2 separate regions of the Homo sapiens genome follow, and region 1 is linked to region 2. Evidence: promoter capture Hi-C in 16 types of primary human blood cells and fetal thymus (Javierre and others, 2016). All regions are on one chromosome and are shown on one strand. Each heading gives the region's core, a stretch centred on a gene start or on the middle of the fragment in contact. The rest is flanking DNA. Distances are from core to core; before and after follow the strand shown. Region 1 has its middle 20 kb from the start of GABRR3. Region 2 holds the start of CRYBG3 (crystallin beta-gamma domain containing 3).

The links. Contacts are between HindIII fragments. The CHiCAGO score rates a contact against its expected background, and 5 or more counts as called.
Region 1: a fragment that was not itself captured here is called in contact with the fragment with the promoter of CRYBG3 in region 2 in 2 of 17 cell types (non-activated CD4 T cells and naive CD4 T cells); the score reaches 5.4 in non-activated CD4 T cells.

The regions. Positions count from the first base shown.
Region 1 is chr3:98,051,665-98,058,535 of GRCh38, reverse strand. It overlaps the pseudogene OR5BM1P. Among named protein-coding and RNA genes, the nearest start is that of GABRR3, 20 kb to the right of the region's middle. The HindIII fragment of the contact is 1,003 bases long and covers 5,096-6,098 here.
Region 2 is chr3:97,818,808-97,824,873 of GRCh38, reverse strand. CRYBG3 (crystallin beta-gamma domain containing 3) reads right to left here and starts at 2,863. Exons shown (of 22, transcript NM_153605.4): 1 at 2,519-2,863. The coding sequence starts at 2,667. LOC101929298 (a long non-coding RNA gene) reads left to right here and starts at 3,098. Exons shown (of 3, transcript XR_427389.3): 1 at 3,098-3,187. RefSeq lists a silencer at 2,717-3,086. The HindIII fragment of the contact is 1,453 bases long and covers 2,033-3,485 here.

The DNA.
Region 1 (6,871 bases), core at 4,348-6,847, 230 kb before region 2:
TAACGTAGAAGCCTTTGATGGTCTATTTTTGGATAGAGCTGCTTGTTCTAAAAAAGACCACAGGAATTTGCAAATCCTTTAAATGCCAGGGAAACCTATGACCTGACTTTATCTGAGATGCTTTAACCACTTTCAAGAACTAGACTATTTGAAAAGTGTTAAGTCACAGAATCTGAAAGAAAAAAAGTATATTTACACAACAGCCCTCTTGAGTTGTAAAGGTTGCCTCTAACATTTTGCAAATGAAAACGTCCATAAGTCTCCCTGTATAAAGGGGTACATTTCATTCTTTGTGGATTTTTATGGTTTGTTCATGGCTTCCAAGTCAAAGGTTTCCTGCTCTGCAGCACTGTAGTAACTTGAAACTCATCTCCAAAGATATTGCTCAAGGGTATGGAGGAAATGTTATATAGTGCTGAATTTTGTTTTGTAAATAGTGAAAGCACAAAACTAGTTTTTTTTCATTTAAAAATCAGTTTTAGAGCAGTGTGGAGTTGCATAAGAAGTAAATACCTGAGTTCAGTGAGAGCTACATAAGAGCAAATTAAATTACCTATCGATTCAAGGAATTTCATATATCACCCAAATAGAAGGTCACATACAGCCTGAGTGCTCCCCTCAGTGATACTCTGGGGCTCCTGGTCCCATCACAACACATAGAGGGAGGAAAACTTCTAGGCCACCCTCTGCCTAGCCATGCTGCAGGCCATGCCCCAGTGTTATGCAGGAAAGACTGGTTCCTTTCTACACTCTAAAACAAGACTCTGGCTAGAAGACTTCCCTCCCTCAGGCTCTATTAAAACTATCTACAAACCTCTGAAACTCCAAATTGGAGCCTGTAACAACAAAATTGGGATATAGTTACCTGACTGCTTCCCTTTGCTCTCTATCCACTTACTCTTCTCCCCTCACCACTAAGTGAGAAAATATGGGCTCATTTTTTACTTCTCTTACTTTGTATTCTCCTTGTGCGATGAAGAAACCAGGCTTAGCCTAGCAGACATAGCCATATTTACAGTATAGAACTCTAATCTCTAAGACTTCCAGTTCATTTCTTAATATACTAAAAATCTGTGTAAAATAATGTAATATTCCTTCAAGACAAATTCCTGTTTTTGAAGTCAGAAGAGGAATTCCTTTTTTTCTCTTTGCATTACTTCTACAACAATTTAAAATATATTCCCAGACAGATAGAACCCTTATGCAAACTATGGAACCAGCTCTATACTCAGAGAGGCAACTGATAAAAGAAAATTAATACTTTTCATTCTCTTCCTCCCCATTACTTTCTCTCCTTAGTAAACATGAGTCCATTCAAAAGACTCTTACTCTTTTTTAGGGTAAGAGTCTTTTGAATGGACTCAAGTTTGCTAAGTTTGCTTACCTTGCTTCTAGAAAGACCTGAGTTGAATTTTCTACTATGTTCTGTTGTAGTTTGGCTAAGTAAAATTGGTTACTGGATGAAAGTCTTTTCTCCTACTAGGAAGCTCCCTCCATCCACAGTATAATGCATCCCTGTCCCAGGAATTCCAGCTACATGGTCAGCAGGGCCTCCCTTGTGTAGGTATGAGCATAGGGTGGACCCACTGGAGGCTGAGCAGTTATCTTTGTAATGGTGTCAGAAAGTGTAGGCTGTCTCCTCAATCTTTTCTTCTCTTTCTCCTCTCTCATATGCTCATGTTCACTTTCAAGTTGTAGTTCCATCTCTGCCTCAGTTGCCTAGCTTGTGTGGAAATAGGTGGATGAGCTGATTCTTGCACGATTCATGTGATGTCCCTTCCCAATCTGCCAGGATCTCTCATGTTGGCCTTGGCTCCTGTGAGACAAGCTGCAGGTTCTATTTCTGACTCAGCTAGGGACTCTGAATATGTCCTCCCACACCTAGTCTCTACAGCATGTCCCAGGCCATCACTTATGAACTGAGTTATCACTATTGGACTTGGGCTTTTCTCAGTGAAAACAACTCTCCAAAAGTCCAGAGTTTAAGAAGAGGGGTTAGTCGATTGTCCCGTATCCTATTACTTCCGATCCATTCTCTCATGGGTCATGACCTCAGCCTGGAGATGACCGGAGTCTGTGATTCTAATCAATGATTTTGTTAAGCAGTTCATGGAATAGATATAGCAAGAGCTGTCATGCTCTAAATGACAGAAAATTAACTTGACTAATTTTAATTTTTTCATGTAAACCTCTGAGATGAATATGAGAATATGGAGCAGGGAAAGGCCTGTGATCTTTTGGGAGTAAAGTGAAGGTCTCTGTCCTACTAATACTGTCTGACTCTTCTGGGCTTGGCATGGTGCCAGCTTTTACAGCCAAAGTCAGTGCCTATTGGAACTATTGATCTGGTCAACTAGTATGGGTAGGGTCCCAGCTGCCCTCCAAGGCTGTTCTGACTCTCTTGGGTCTCATTGATGTGGTCACCCCTCAGGGTCTCTCTTATGTCCTCCACCTACATGTCCCAACCCACCTGTTGCATGAGTGAGTCTCTTGGCTTCTTTCTGTCGCTGCAGGAATTTGCAGGTCCTGGCCATGCAAGATGGTGATGGGGACCAGCCTCTAAAGCTTAACCTTCAAGGGTCTGCTGCCTACGTACTTTGCAAACCAAGTTTACTTTGAGGTAGCCAGGTAAGGAAGGAGCAGAGCCAGAAATGATTTCTAGTGCCATAAATTGGAATCTGGACAAAACACACTCTTTTCCAAGTCTACCTTTGATGTACGCAATAATGCTCCTGCCACATATGTACACATCTTAATTCCCAGAACCTGTGAATATGTTAGGTTACCTGGCAAAGGGGAATTCATGCTTCAGAGGTAATTAAGGTTGTATGAAAGAAACTGAGGTAACTAAGGTGCAGGCATTCTAAAGTGGAGCTAGGAGATTGTGAGAGAATTGCACTAACACCTCTAAAAGTCAAACCACAGATTGTGCCAACGGACTTGGATGAACAATGGAAGTTAGTGTCTGCCAGTCTTCAACATTTCTCACCTGGGAGTGCCCTAATTAACTAACCAATTAGTACAGCTCTGTGATTTGGGATTTCTGCTCAGCCAATGAACTGCCTCTTTAAGGGACATGATTCAGGACTCAGACATAAGTAATTTAAAAGTCTGCTCTTCAGGCTATCTTGTTAAAAGGTCAAGTACTAGATTTTTCCCACCTCAGAAACTATGAAAAAAAATGTTAAAATAAGAAATTAATTTCCATTGTTTAATATTTGCAAAACTATTGTCCCCTTTGACTATATAGCTGCCTGTGGCTGTTTTCCTCTCGGGGAGTGTGAGGATGTCAGTCCTGCTCTATGTGAATCTAGCTGAGGAAAGCATGTAGAATGTAGTACTCTGGTCTCTAGGTCTCAACCCAAATCAGTGGGGATTTTTCTTGAAATAATATAGGTGTAATGATGAGAGAGAAAGGTTATACATTGACATACGGCCACTATGTAGGCAAGACTAATCAGCCTGTATGGCATATTACATATAAAATTAGAACACTTTGTCGCTGGGGTTGACTATAGAGAGATGGAGACAGGAACTCCTGCAGAGATTCTGCAGCCACAGGGTACACCTGCTTAAAATGGAGTCCCCACAGCAGAAGGCACAGCTCAGATGCAATGAGAGGAACCGGGTTCTGAAAAAACTGAACCCTAACAAACTATTCCTAAAGCCACTGTGCCTCATTTGGGGCTTTGGGTTATATCATTCAACAAACTGCCATTTCTTCACTTTTTTTTAAAGCCAGGGTAAAAGCAATGTATTATGCATATGGAAAAATCTTTCTTGAGTATTTTCTCAAGAGAATACTCTCTTGAGTATTCTCAAGAGTCTAAGTAATAAAAGTAAGGAGGTCAAAGTTTGCCTACTCATGAAAGGGCCAGATAGAATATATACACAATGTAGGTAAGAAAAAAAATTAGCTTAATATATTTAACTGACAGTTGATCAAGCACACCTGCTGGTTCAGGCAGGTGTCAATGCCAGAAAACACTATTCAGGTAGGATATGTGTGTCAGGAATGCAGTGCTCAGTAGGACTACTCAATAAATTAAAAAGTAAAAGTTTTAGAAGAACTCAGAAATTTTCTAACTATATTGCAGAAATTTGAATTACTTTTAGTATTTTTGTTGTTACATTTACATATCTTTCAATGGAGGCAATGAAACATGTTACTTTTCAAAATTGCTTTTAAACCAAATGGAAATCTTAGTTTTAAATGTTTTAAGAGGATATGTGTTGTCATATTTGGCCTAACAGTATTATTTTTATTAACATTCTGATATATTATTATAAATATCTGCTAAAGAGAAAGTTTGAAAAATGCCTTGTTCAAGAATTATTTAGAAGTGCATGAATACTTTGAACACTTTTTAAATTATATAGGTGGGGTCTTCCTTTAAATAACTGCAAGTAAGTTCTAAAACATGTATGTCTGTATTTCATGTAGTTCATTCATGTTACAAAAACTTGTTACTAAGTCTTTGTAAAATGAATGAACTCTTGTGTTTCATTCATGTTACAAAAACAGTAATGTGGCATTATAATTTCAGTTTGAACTTCATCCTTGAGTATGTACTTAAAACAACAACAAAAATGTGGTGTTTGTCCTTAAATGCTCATTAACTATTTTAATGATCAGAATAACTTATAACTAAGACAAGAATATTTAGTCTAAATTTTTTTATTCATTCACTTAACATATTGTGTCCCTACTATGTGTAAAACACAGAAACAATTATTACGATTTGTTTTAACAGAAAGGAAATGGAAAGAATTATGAAAGTGTTCTCCAAAAATATTTCTTTATCATTGTTCTAAGTGTACCTAAAACTTCTTTGTTTTTCATACTGTAAATAAAGGAGTCTGCAGAGGAATTATAATCATGTAGAACGGAAAATACATTTCATTCCACTGTTAATCTGGGCCAGACCTGGGGCACCCATACATGAAGAAGACACTGCTATAGAACAAAGAGACAGAGAGCAGGTGGGCACTGCACATGAGGAAGCTTTTGCTTCTGCCCTTCTCAGAATTCTTTTTCAGTAAGGCAAAGAGGACTTGGGTATAAGAAACTATGATGATCATAAAAGCAAAAGCTTGTATAAAAGCAGTGAAAACCACAAAATCACTAATGAGTTAATAAATGGATCAATGTAAGAAATTGTATATTGTACACTGAAAAAATGGTAAGATTTTTTTAAAATACATATTATTTCTTGAGGGTTATAGAGGAGATTCTAGACAAGAACTAACTAGTCCCATAGCCTGCCACTCATAAGTACCTTAAAATTGAATGTATTAACAACGAAGTGTTTTAAGAGCAAAAGGTACACGGTATATTTTATGCCAAAATCTTAGAAAATGAGACTTTGTTTTGGGTTCAAAAGTGTATTTTCTCATTCTTTCAGGAACTTTTTTATCTTTCTAGAACAAAAAATGATCTGATCCTCTTGGTATTACAAACGGGACTATCACAGTCAAGGTGGAATAAAACATTACAAAAACATCATAGTAGAAAGAATGGCCAGTGTTTTGAATATCTGGATTCAATTTAAGTGATAAGTTAAATAGTAAATTATAAATTTTATTTAAATAACAAATTAAATGGGGAGAAAGGATTAACCAAATTAATAGGCAATGACTAACATAAACATAGGTAAGGCAATGCAGAAAAAGCCTCAAGCTAAAAGTGTATCCATGAGTTTTACAAGCCTGGAAAGTAAATGGAAAGGAAACTAAACGAGATCCTGTGGAAACACAGGGTGAAAAAATATGTCTGTATCATCAATACATGTCTTTAATGACAAACTTTGCATAATTCCGGACATAAAATATGTTTTACATATTCAAATCCCTGCCTTGTTGATCTAAAGCAGGAACTACCTACTTATAAAACAGTAGGCCTAAGTATACAACCATTCAAGGGAACATTTATAAGTATTAGATTTACAACTCTTAAGGTTTAATGACAAGGCCAGCCAGTAGGTGTTACAACGTGACATATTTTTATTTCTATTAACTAGTCACCAATTCTGTATAACTGTAGCTAAAGTCTTCACTTCCCAAGTCTGTGCAGGCCTGAAACTCGTTTTCTCAAAGCTTCTGCTTTGTTAACTCAAAATTAAGGCACAATAATGGAAAATTTAAGGAAAAGTTTTAGAGTTAGTGAAAAACAACAGTAAAAATACATAGAACGATTGGGATTTTTAATTTTTAATTTTTTTTATTTCCAAAGGTTTTGGGGAACAGTTGGTGTTTGGTTATATGAATAAGTTCTTTAGTGGTGATTTCTGAGATTTTGGTGCACCCATCACACAAGCAGTGTAGCCTGTAACCTGTACCCGAGGTGTAGTCTTTTATCCCTCGCCACCACCAACACTTTCCACCGAGTCCCCAAAGTCCAATGTATCGTTCTTATGCCTTTGTGTCCTCATAGCTTAGCTCCCTCATATAAGTGAGACCATACAATGTTTGGTTTTCCATTCCTGAGTTACTTCACCTAGAATATTAGTCTGCAATTCCATCCAGGTTGCTGCAAATGCCATTCTTTCATTCTTTCTTATGGCTGAGTAGTATTCCGTTATATCTATCTATCTATCTCACATTTTCTTTATCCACTTGTTGATTGATGGGCATTTGGGCTGGTTCCACATTTTTGCACCTGCAAATTGTGCTACTATAAACATGTGTGTGCAAGTATCTTTTTCATATAATGGCTTCTTTTCCTCTGGGTAGATACCTAGCAGTGGGATTGCTGGATCAAATGGTAGATCTACTTTTAATTTTTTTTTTTTTTTTTGAGACGGAGTCTTGCTCTGTCGCCCAGGCTGGAGTGCAGTGGTGCGATCTCGGCTCTCTGCAAGCTCCGCCTCCT
Region 2 (6,066 bases), core at 1,614-4,113:
AGTGATTCTCAAACTGGGATCCACAGAACTCTGGGAGTTTTTGAGTTTCCTATGAAAACTTCAATTGCAGTTTTCCTTTTTATCATCTAAAATAAATTAATATAAGCATTTCCTGGAAATGGTCAACCACCTAATATGAGTACAATCAAGCAATTTGAGTGCCTACGCCTAAGTTGGGATATACAATAGTGTTGATGCTAATAGGCCTTCTTTAATTGTGACAAAGAAAGAATACATAATGAAGTGTTGTCACCAACTGAAGCCCATATAAATCACAGCACACCATAAAAACAAAGATTTTCCTATGGTTCAAAACAGTAAAATATTGGAAGACCTGTATCAAGGCATGGCAGCTCCCCAAAGACCTGGTGTTTGTCCCAGTACGCATTTTGTGAGCAGGCAAAAAAACAGTTTCAGGATGTTGTAAATTCGACTTTTACGGGTCTCATAATTATGTTTTAGTTTATTTTTTAATTTTGTACTCCTCTTCATCTAAAATCATCACTACAGAAGGTATACCCAGCTCTCATAATGATAAAAGTTTTTATGCCCACAAAGAGAAATAGCCAAAATACTCTTTCATTTTGAAATAAGATCACAGTGACAAATTGCAATTCTGTTTCCAATCTTGTTAACATCAGGGTGTTGTGTTACTGGGACATTCAGTACTATAAAGCGGTTCCATTTGTTTTATTAAACTTTCAATAAAGGCTTTGTGTTTGTTTATGCCCTTGAAATGAAAGATTTAAGCTCATTTAAAACAGTAAAACACCCACATAAAGGGTCATCTGCTATCCCCCTAACATCTGGCAAGTTCCAAAAAAGATGAGAACAAAATTAGCGTTGATATAAGCACAATTAAAATCTTCATCGTTGAAAAGCCATAATTTGTGCCAATCTGGAGATGATGAGAATAGAGAAGTGGTAGGTGAACAAGGAACTAGTTGCTGGAGGGGTCAGCTCCAGTCAGTAAAGAAATTAGAATTGAGAAGTGCCTTAAAAAGCCAAAATAGGGCAGAGAGGCAAGCAGGATTTCAGGCCATTACTGACATGAGCCTGAATTTGACCTGCTTACTCCTTTCTAACACTGACTCTCAAGTTCCCAACTTTTGCTGCGCCTACTTGGGATTTCCTTGCAGACTGCGTTCATATTATCCAAGACTGTTAGTGCTGTTACGGCGGTGGCAGGCACCACAGGCTGTCTGCCCACACCAACAGAACTAGCTGACACCCTGGATGAGATCTGTCAGACTTAAAAACTATTTTTAACTTCTGTGTAACTTTGAATTTTAAACTCTCAACAGTCAGAGCAATAATAGCTGAAACGTCCCAGGAGAATAACCACTCAATTATCGTAGGAGCTTTCTTGGAAACATGTGGCATGTTATTAACAGACGGTCATAATGAAAATGTTTCACAAGCGGGGAAACCGAGGAACACACAAACGACTAAAATCACATCACAAAATCTGAATACTAATGGAATTGGCTCACTCTCAGTTCTGTTTCCTATCCATTTTTTTTAAGCCCACCAGGAAATCTTGAGTCCGAAGTAAACACGGTTTTCTGGAGTGTGTCCTTCCAATGACAATGGTCATTCTAGTGCAATCTCGGGAGAAGACAGTGTAAGCCTCTCATAAGTTTAAGAAAGCGAGCTGCGTTTTACTTAACCCCTCTTTCTTCGGGGGGATGAAAAGACTCAGAAACAGGCATTTAAATGAGGCATGTCTAAAATTTTTTGATTTTTGAACATGGGAAAGTGAAGGAAAGATAAAAATATTACAGAGAAAGGGTACATTTTGATTACTGAAACCAAGACAGCTGGAAACCTGATTTCCAGAATCTGTTTGGGAACTTGAGGCAGATGTTTCTAGGAGAGATGAGAAATAAAGAAGGGTGGCGTCATTTACATGTCCAGTCCATTTTGGTGAAAGTCTTGGGAACGCATTATCACAATTCCTTTTAAAAATCATTTTGAGAAAATTTAAATAAGATGGCAAAAATACCAGCTGAGGGGGTGACGCCCCAAAGCTTTACCTTTTCCACTTTTGCCCCGATCTCCTCCCACACAAGTGGTGCTGGGATCGCGCCCCCAATTCCCCTGGCCGACGGCTCCGCTCGGCTCACAAGTGTTTCCCATTACTGCAGGCGGGACGCCGGGGAAATCGCTTTTGCCACAGAACTTGGAGAGTAGAGCGTGTGTGGAACGGGAACCCAATCACGTCCGGGCAGGGGAAAGTGGGAAAGGAAGAGCGCGGAGCCAGGCGGGGATCGGGGGATATGCGTCCGGCTGCCGGGCAAGAACTTCACCCCGATTTAACCTGCAGAGGAGAGGCGAGTAGTGCGGCACGGGAACGGGGCAAGGAGGAGGAAACTTTAGCAATGGAGGAAGGAGAACAGAAAGTGGCGAGCGAACTGCAGCCTGGCCCAAGAGCGGCCCGCTGCCGGCGGTCAGGCCGGGAGCCTTCATCCCGCGAATATGTGCAGGGCCCCCCCGCGACCCCCTCCTCGACTCCCACCTGGCAGCGGACCGGCCTGGAGCTGGAGGCGGGCTCGTCCCCGGCCTCTCCTCCTCTTCCTCTTCCTTGTCCCGGGAAGGACTTCGGGGAGCGAAGAACCGGGAGAAGCTGTGCCAGGGGGCGCTGCCCCTTCTGCGGCCGCTGGACATTTCCCGAGGGGGCCGCTGGCCCGGGGCTGTCTGAAGGGAACGGCCTAGGTGTTGCCTGGTGCCCGGAGCCCGACCGGGCGCCGCGGGATGCGGCTAGGGCAGACCGACTCGACGCGAGCTGCCAGCGCGGCTCAGTCTCTCTCGGGCAGGAGAAGTGCGGACGCGACGCGCTCCTCGCGCGGCAGCTCCTCACGCCGCTGCGGCTGCTCCTCCTCCCGCCCTCGCCCGGCGCGGCCCGCCCCACCCCGAGGAGGAGCCAGTGGCCGCGGCACCGCCCTGAGCCGGGCGCAGCCGCCACCGCTGGGGCGCTACGTGGTCCCCCGAAGGCGCCGGCCTGAGAGCCTGAGGGGAGTCGCCCAGCGTGCGACGCTAGGCTCGGGCTTACGGCTCAAACAAGTTCAGGCTGCAGCCTGTTGGGCTTTGCCTTCAATTACTTTCTGTGACCGTTGTGTTTTCTATTCTACAGTCAGAGCACAGAAACGGTTTTCTTCGGGCTTTTGAAAGAGGTTTATGAACTAAGGTTTGTGAAAACACTTGGCAAACTGCAGTACCGGGGCGCCCCGGACTTGCTGGGAGCTAAGAAACAGCTACCGCAAATACAGCTCCAACCCTGAGGGCGAAAGTCGCGTTAGCACAGAACCGGGCGGCGGGAGGGAGAAGGGGGTACCTGTCAGGCGGTCACCACCTCCCGGCGCGTTCTGCTGGCTTTCTGTGGTGTGACTTTTCCTAACCGCGCTGTGCTTCAGACTTTTCACACGCCATACTTCCCTGCGAACTCTTTCAAAAACGGCACTGATCAAAAAGTATGATTTCAAGCTTGTCAATGCTGCAACATATTTTGCAGTCGTTACACAGATGCCACTGAAATCTGGGAACCAAAGGGTGCTTAAGACTTGTTTTAAGTCTAAGTACAGTGGTATGGATTTTTCTTGGTTTTTCATACCCTATAGCAGCTAGTACAGGAGATACTGAGAGGCCCATTCACCCCAAGTGTTTTGTTTTTGTTTGAAGGCAAGCTGCCCCTGGAGTAGACGTCAAGGAAGTGATATGGCTTTTGTTCATTAAAAAATGTATACAAGTAAATGAGATAAAAATGAAATGTCCACAGCAGAGGGGAGCCTTGGAGTAATCTCCCCTCTGGCTTTCGGGTGCTGGAGGAGAAGGTTGCTCATAAGTAGATTGCATACCTATAAGCCCCAAGTCCTTTCAGCACCTGCTGGAGGCTATTGAGCCTCCCTGCCTCCCCACGCTGCCTCCCAGAAGCCCTCCAGCTCCTACTAACTGCAATAGAGCCAAGACACTCATTCTCATTTGTTCTGGCAGGATTTAACCCATTAAAGTTCAGTCAGCCCGATTTCCATCAATCGGGTTCATCTCAGTCTATCCCTCAAGATTAATCCTTTTTTACTCTTTGGTAAATTTTTCCTATTTCTCTGTGAGCCTAGTCTGAGAAAATAGAAAAAGACTAAGATAATAGACTAGAATAAGACAAGTTCCCAATTCTAGCTTTATTATTTTATAAGAGAATCTCCACTGAAGACCCACTTACCAAAAAGCCCAAAGAGAGTAATAAAGCAAACTGTTTCTTCCAGCTAAAAGGCCCAAATGATAATTTGTCTTCCCAACGTATTATTGAATGACTATCACATTTGTCCCTGACTTGTTCTGTGATCAAACCAGGCCCCAGTGCCTACCCAGAGGGTACTTCGTTCAGGAAGTTTTTCTTGGAATAAAAATGGGGGGGAGTCAATAGGATTTAATTAATGAATTATGGTTTTAACTAATAATATATCTAACAATACTCTGATCTCCACTCGGTAGCACAGCAAAGCACTTAAGTGAATGGTAAATACAAATAATGCCATGTTTACACTAAGACAAATTGCGTCTATGACAAAATAGCTTAAAGTCATAAAACAATGACCATTGAATTTTCCTTCATTTGCTTTCTGAGCACTTATTAGTTTTCTATATGTCCTACATTGTTATAACCTGAACTCATATGAACAAATTTCTAAATACTAAATTCTAAGATTGCATTAGGAAGCCTGTAAAAATGTCAAATTTTAGAGCTGTAAGGATCTTAGAGATACTAATTTAGCACAGTGTCATTAATTCACTGATCCAGTTATTCCCCGACGTTTAGTGAGTGCCTGCAGTAGAAGCACATCTACAGTGAAGCCGATGAGGCTCAAGTTTCTTGGCTCCCTGCTGGCACAGTCTCTTCCAGTGTGAACTCAGCAATGGGATCCATGGCCAGTTTTATCAAATTTACAAAAGTAAATGTTTTAATGTGATTAAGACCACAATCTCTTTTTTTTTCCACTTAGATGTCCACTTAGATTTTCTTTTCCACTTAGAGTTATCAAGAGCATTTGGGAATCTGCTAGGGAATTTCAGTTGGGAATATATTTAGTTTGGACTTAGTGGAATATATTTATGTGGTTTCCAGCCTCTCCAAAGTATAGTTATTTCTTAAATTCCAATTTGTTTGTAGCGCAGCTCACCAAGTATTACACCCAAGATGCAGAGCCAGAGGAGATATATTCTGTGGTCTCTGACACTGAAAATATGTGGGTAATAGAGGTGAGACAAGATTTGAAAGGTAAAGCAGCATCAGGTGTCATGTGGAAAATTATTCCAGGCATCAGAAGACAAAGTTTCAACAGGAAGGATTGCCTCCGATTGATGTAATTTCTCTCATAGCAATAATATATTCAATAATGCAGTATATTTAATTTTTTTTTTGAGACAGAGTCTGGCGCTGTCACCTTGGCTGGGGTGCAGTGGTGCAATTTCAACTCACTGAAACCTCCGCCTCCTGGGTTCAAGCAATTCTCCTGTCTCAGCCTCCAGAGTGGCTGGGACTACAGGCGCCCACCACCATGCCCAGCTAATTTTTGTATTTTCAGTAGAGACGGGGTTTGACCATATTGGTCAGGCTGGTCTCGAACTCCTGACCTCAGGTAATCCACCCGTCTCAGCCACCCAAAATAATTTTTATAACTGTAAACACAAAACATTTTTTCTTGTTGATGTAAACCATGTAAAATAGAATTTATCAGAATTCTTGTTTGTAGGGTACAAACCTGTAGCAGTACCACAAGCTTTGTGTGTGTGTGTGTAGTACTGCATGTTTACACAGCCTTTCTATCAATAAGAAAAACAGAACTAGAGGAAAGATTGCATTATCTTTTCATTATTATGGAAAATAATATTACTAAATTATTGTCATATGAAAGGCTATTGAAGAGTACACTGCCAAAAATATAGGAAAAAAAGTGATTGTGCAAGGCATTTAGTAAGAAAACAAATTGTTTTTCTAGTCAACCTTTTAAAATTAGTAATTTGCATGGTTTATGTTTTCATTCAATATATTCATTTTTATATCTAATTTTC